2 separate regions of the Homo sapiens genome follow, and region 1 is linked to region 2. Evidence: promoter capture Hi-C in human tissues and cell types (Jung and others, 2019). All regions are on one chromosome and are shown on one strand. The core of a region is centred on a gene start or on the middle of the fragment in contact, and the rest is flanking DNA. Distances in the headings are between cores, read along the strand shown. Region 1 overlaps PCID2 (PCI domain containing 2). Region 2 holds the start of ADPRHL1 (ADP-ribosylhydrolase like 1).

What was found. The method cuts DNA at HindIII sites, captures the fragments that hold promoters and counts their contacts. A contact is called where the count stands out against the background at its distance.
Region 1: a contact is called between a fragment that was not itself captured here and the fragment with the promoter of ADPRHL1 in region 2, in 1 of the 25 tissues and cell types used here (dorsolateral prefrontal cortex).

What each region holds. Positions count from the first base shown.
Region 1 is chr13:113,192,542-113,195,241 of GRCh38, reverse strand. PCID2 (PCI domain containing 2) reads left to right here. Exons shown (of 14, transcript NM_001127202.4): 6 at 117-171. Among named protein-coding and RNA genes, the nearest start is that of PCID2, 15 kb to the left of the region's middle. The HindIII fragment of the contact is 3,442 bases long and covers 1-2,700 here.
Region 2 is chr13:113,452,131-113,454,830 of GRCh38, reverse strand. ADPRHL1 (ADP-ribosylhydrolase like 1) reads left to right here and starts at 1,343. Exons shown (of 8, transcript NM_001394807.1): 1 at 1,343-1,607. The coding sequence starts at 1,394. The HindIII fragment of the contact is 9,965 bases long and covers 1-2,700 here.

The sequences.
Region 1 (2,700 bases), core at 156-2,655, 260 kb after region 2:
ATAAGTGCGGACTCCATTCTGGATAGTAGCCCTGGGTGTCCGTGTTCTTCCCACCTCTGGGGATGGAATCTTGGCCCACGTAGCCCCTCACACTTGTTTACTTTTTTGCCCTGCAGGGCTCTGCCTGTCATGTATGCAGTAGCGCTTGACCTTCGAGTGTTTGCCAATAATGTAAGTTTAATTTGCTGTCATTATTATTTTAAAACTAAAACTTGGTGACTATCTGTTGTTTAATTTCATGTCATTCTTCCCAGAAGTTTTGAGGAGCAAATTGGAGTTGAGATGTGTCTGGTATAGGGAGCAAAAGAAAGATATTGACTATTCTTTCTGGGTTAACACCAACAGATTTATATAAACATTTGCTCAGATTTCCACACTGTTCATATAGAGGGAGAGGTTCCATTTTGTGGTTAACCATTTATGGTATGTGTTATTTTTATGAAGTGAGTGGAACAACAACAAATGAGCTTATTCTGCATCTCTTCTACCTTTAAGATGTGGCCTGCTCCCCCACCAAAAAGAATTCAGCTTCATATAGATTTGGGCAGTAGGAGGGGGCTTCCCTGGGGTGAAGGGAGATCCTGGGTTTTATGGAGGCGACGTCCCCATGGGGACCCACGGAAGTCCCCATTATGGAGCAGCATTTGTCAACCTTTTGGTTTTAGGACGACCCCTTTACAGTTTTAGAAATGATTGTTGACTTCAGTTCCAGTCAGGATGCAATGGATTTCACCCTATTGTGCCTGCTAGAAACAGTTAAAACCCTGGGAGTTGTCAGGCCGGCATGGCTATGGGAGGTGGAGAGAAGAGGGGGATGGGGCTCAGAGTCACGTGTAGGGAGTCTCCAGGTTTCCTTTTTGTCTCCTGTCTGTCCTGGACTGGGCGCGTTAGAAACCTGAAGCCTTTCACCATCAGGCAGAGACAAAAAGCCCCAAGGAAACCAGGAGGCTGGGAAGACAGTCCAATCCAGCAAGACAGAACTCTGACCGTCACTGCCTCACTCCAGTGCCAGGCGCAAAGAAGTCAGCAGGTCCGTCCCACCCCATCTGCAAAGTGGTGCGGACTGGGGGTGGCCCAGGACCTCCACCCTGGGCTAGCAGTAATGAGGAGCTAGTCCCCCTCCCCACCAGGTGGATGTCAGAGGCTAAGCAGGGGACCTAGACCTCCCCGACTCAGTGGCTAAGGGGATGCACCTGTTTCTCTGCTTGCATGGTGAGGCCTGCTAAACAAGATAAATAAAGTCCATAGTCTCGTCAGGTAGTGCCTCAAATGTCCGGGATCTAATCGACACTGATTACCAGGAAAATCTCAACTTTCAGAGATTTCAAATGAGAAAAAACATTCAGCAGAAGACACCAAGGCTGAGATTGTACAAATGTTGGAATTATGTGACAAGAGTTTTAAACAGCCCTCTTGATTCAGCAAGCAATTTAGAACATGCTTGAAACAAATGAAAACATTTAAAGTCTCAACAAGGAAATAGGCGATATAAAGAAGAACCAAATGGAAATTTTAGAACTGAAAAGTATACTGAAGACCTCAGAAAGCTTTTATTTTTGTTATATCTATTTATATTTACTGTATTAGAAATTTTAATTAGAAAAGATTTTAAAATATTCATTTTAAAGCAACAATAATAAACCTTTTACATGTAACATAACTGACTTTTTAAATAAAAAATAACTATATTTCCAAAACAAAATACTAAGAAAAGTAGTGTCACATCACTTTTGACCTCTTTGATGTCTAGTTCAGCAGAGGCAATCTGGTCCCCTTGCCTGCTTCTGCACTTACTCTGTTGCAGTACACTGTTTTGAGTAAAGTGTTTCTCTGCCTGATGGTGAAAGGCTACATCACAAAGTTGTAGATGGAAAAGAGAGGAATATTCTCATAGGCTTTCCAGACCATTGAGATAATTCTTTGACTCTATATAGGAAAACTCCAAGAGGCAGTTTTTTTTTTTTAAAAAGGTTAGTTACAATGTGGCTTCTGAAGTGTACCAATAAACTTTTTCTACCTTTACACTGAAATCCACTGGTCTGCCTAAAGCACTGAATGGATTTCGTAATATCTTGTGTTAGTCATGTCTTAGTCCATTTGGGCTGCTATAAGAAAATACTATAAACTGGGTTGGCTTGTAACCAACAAGCATTTATGTCTCATAGTTCTGGAGGCAGGGAGGTCCAGATCAAGTCAGGGAGGTCCAGATCAAGTCAGGCAGGGAGGTCCAGATCAAGTTGAGTTTCTGATGAAGAGGGCCGCTTCCTGGCTCATAGCATCTTGCTGTGTCTGCACATGGTAGATGGGGCAAGGGATCTCTCTTTCCCATTCATGACAGCTTCACCTTCATGACCTCATCACCTTCCAAAGGCCTCTCTTCCAAACACCGTCACTTTGAGGGTTAGGATTTCAGCATGAGTTTTGGAGGGGACACAAGCATTCAGACCATAGCAGACCATTTGGAGTATATTAGCTTACTGAGCCATGCAGCACCTCCCAAGTGCTGATATACCACTGTTAAAAACCCAACCCCCAAACCCCTACCTTCCTTAACATCTCCAGGGGCCTCATCAGAAAAGCCTTGGAGTAAGGAAAAGCTGCTAAGCTCACAGTAGTTCATAAAAGTTTTCCAGAATTCTGGTTTTTCTTGAAAGCACAAATGTTGTCATTGGCAACGAGTACCATCAGTTGTTTGCCTGG
Region 2 (2,700 bases), core at 94-2,593:
CCACCACCATGCCCGGCTAATTTTTGTATTTTTAGTAGAGACGGGGTTTCATCATATTGGTCAGGCTGGCCTCAAAATCCTGAGCTCAGGGGATCCGCCCGCCTCGGCCTCCCAAAGTGCTGGGATTACAGCCATGAGCCACCGCGCCCGGCCTGCATGCTGGTTTTGAAGTTTGTTTCTGAATCTCAGGATCATGCTAGCTGGCATGACTGTGCTGATGGCTGCCTCCACCAGCAGACAGTGGAGGGTGAGGTGAACTCACTGCTTGAGATCCTCCGTTTTAACAAGTGCTGATATAACGCCAGGCGGTTAAATGCTTCCTACTGTCTCGCTGTACACTACGAGAGTTTTTATCAGACGCATTTCTTCAGTCCAGGTGTAACTCTTTGCTTCCCCTGGGTCTGATGGAAACCAGGCCCCGAGGAAGGAGACGGGAGAGACACAGCCCTGCTGGGCTCCCGGCCTCTGCGGAGAACTGTCCTGGGGTGGGGTCGGGAGATGGACTGTTTTCCTAATTTATTTCAAACCAGGAACCCTGGCTGTGTGCATTCTGCCTCACCCCCCGTCTCCATATTTTTTAATATTCTTTTCATGAGCTAGCAGGGATGATGTAAATACACTGAGCTGACCGAGGGCCGGATGGGAGGTTCTAGTGAAGCCTGCGGTTTGCTGACGACTTTCCCCCTCAGTGCAGTCCAATTATTTGGGAGCCGTTAAACACCGCATGCTGAGAAGACACCGTCATTGTTCACACAGGAGCTAGATAGACTTTGTTCCCTCTACACTGCATTTTTTAAAAGTTTTCTATCAAAAACACATTTCATAATCGAAAAGTTTTCTAAATGATAAAACCGCATGTCACAGATTAATCTCAACATTATGTTGAGTGAAGGAAGCCAGACACCGAAGGCCACACATTGTATTTGAAATGTCCAGGAAAGGCAGAACTGTAGAGACAGCAGATGGGTTGTTGCCCGAGGGGTGAGGGCACGCCCCGCAGCGGGCGGCAGTGACAGGCACGCCTGCACACATCTGCTCCCGCATCACCCCACGCCACACACGGGGAAGTGTGCGCACTCCTTCCAGGGACAGCGAGAGGAGCCCCTGCTCTGTCAACGCTCTGAATGTGCTGCGGCTGCCGGCAGAAGCTAGCAGGCTCCTCTGCTGAGGAGCTGGTGCCTGTCCAGACGCAGAAGAAAACTGACACCTCCCACGTGGGGGACAGAAAGGTCCTCTCATTGGTGCCACCTGCAGAGATAGACAAGGAGCGCCTGGCCATCAGAGGACGCTCCTGACAGTGACACAGTGACCACTATAAAAGTCAGGCGGGCTGAGGAGGAGACAAAGGCCAGGACGCTCCGCAGCTGTTGGGGAAGAGGAGCTGCCTCCTGGGATGGAGAAATTTAAGGCTGCGATGTTGCTGGGGAGCGTCGGCGATGCTCTTGGCTACAGAAATGTCTGCAAGGAGAACAGCACTGTAGGCATGAAGATCCAGGAGGAGCTGCAACGTTCCGGGGGCCTGGACCACCTCGTACTCTCGCCAGGAGAATGGCCCGTGAGTGACAACACCATCATGCACATCGCAACCGCCGAGGCCCTCACCACAGGTAGGCTGGGCCCACCGCGCTCCGGTGTGCGGGCTGGAGGGAACACTGGCTGCTCGAGTTCTCCCAGTAAGCCTCCGAGAGCTTTGAAGGCAGTGCGGTCCTTCAGCGGATGGTGTTACCTGATACCGCTGCTAAAAGTGGCAATTTAATCTGAGTGTCCCTCAAATTTGATATGCGGCAGATCACGTTTCTCCTGTGGTTTCTCTGAGGGTGACAGTATTACTTTACTTTGCAGTTATTAAGATTCAGTTTTTAAACGTGACTTTTCACTTGTATTTGTAAAGCGTTAACTAGGCCTAGCACCTTCTGTTTCTAATAGAGTTAAAGCCAGTGAAGCCTCTCTCGGCCGTGCTGGTGGGAGTAGGGTGAGGGCTCACTTCTCGCTGCAGAGATTAAGCCTTCTTGTTCTGAATTCATTACAAAGGGATGTAAAATAAGCCAGTTTGAAATGTGAACCCATTAATACTGTTTGGGGATTAGTTCTAAATTCCAATGAATTAAAGTTAGAATATCATCTCCCAAAATGGTTCAGCTTGGAGAGTTGCCCATACACAAATGTGTTCTAAGAAAATGACATAAACTTGATTGGACGAGATTGGAGACAAAGCTTCTTAAAATACCTTTAAGTAGCAAATTGATTTTAGGATCAAGCTTTTGCATGAATTTCAGGGAAATGGCAGGTGCACAGACATGCAGTCCAGCTTTCCTACGAGGCATTTGCTCTTCAAAACCCCGTGGGTGCTGTTTATCATGGCAGAATTAAAATCTGAGGGCTGCAGCTAAGTCAATGAAATCTCACTTATGCGTTCACTCCACCATTCTGTTCATCTGCCATGGACGTGCCCAGTTTAGTTCTGTGCTCACAGCAGAGGAATGCCATCGAGCCTGTGGCCGGTCCCTAAATAACGGGAGAGCTGAAGCGCCGGCGATAAGATAAGGCTCCCGGCTTGCTGGAGACGGGGAGGCGTCCGACTGTTCACAGCCTTGGCGTCCAGGAGCTCCTGCTTCTGGTTTTCCAGGCGGCCACTCGTGTGCCCTTAGGACCAGCAACCCCATGCTTGTGCCCCGCAGCCCAGAACAGGTGCACCCCACA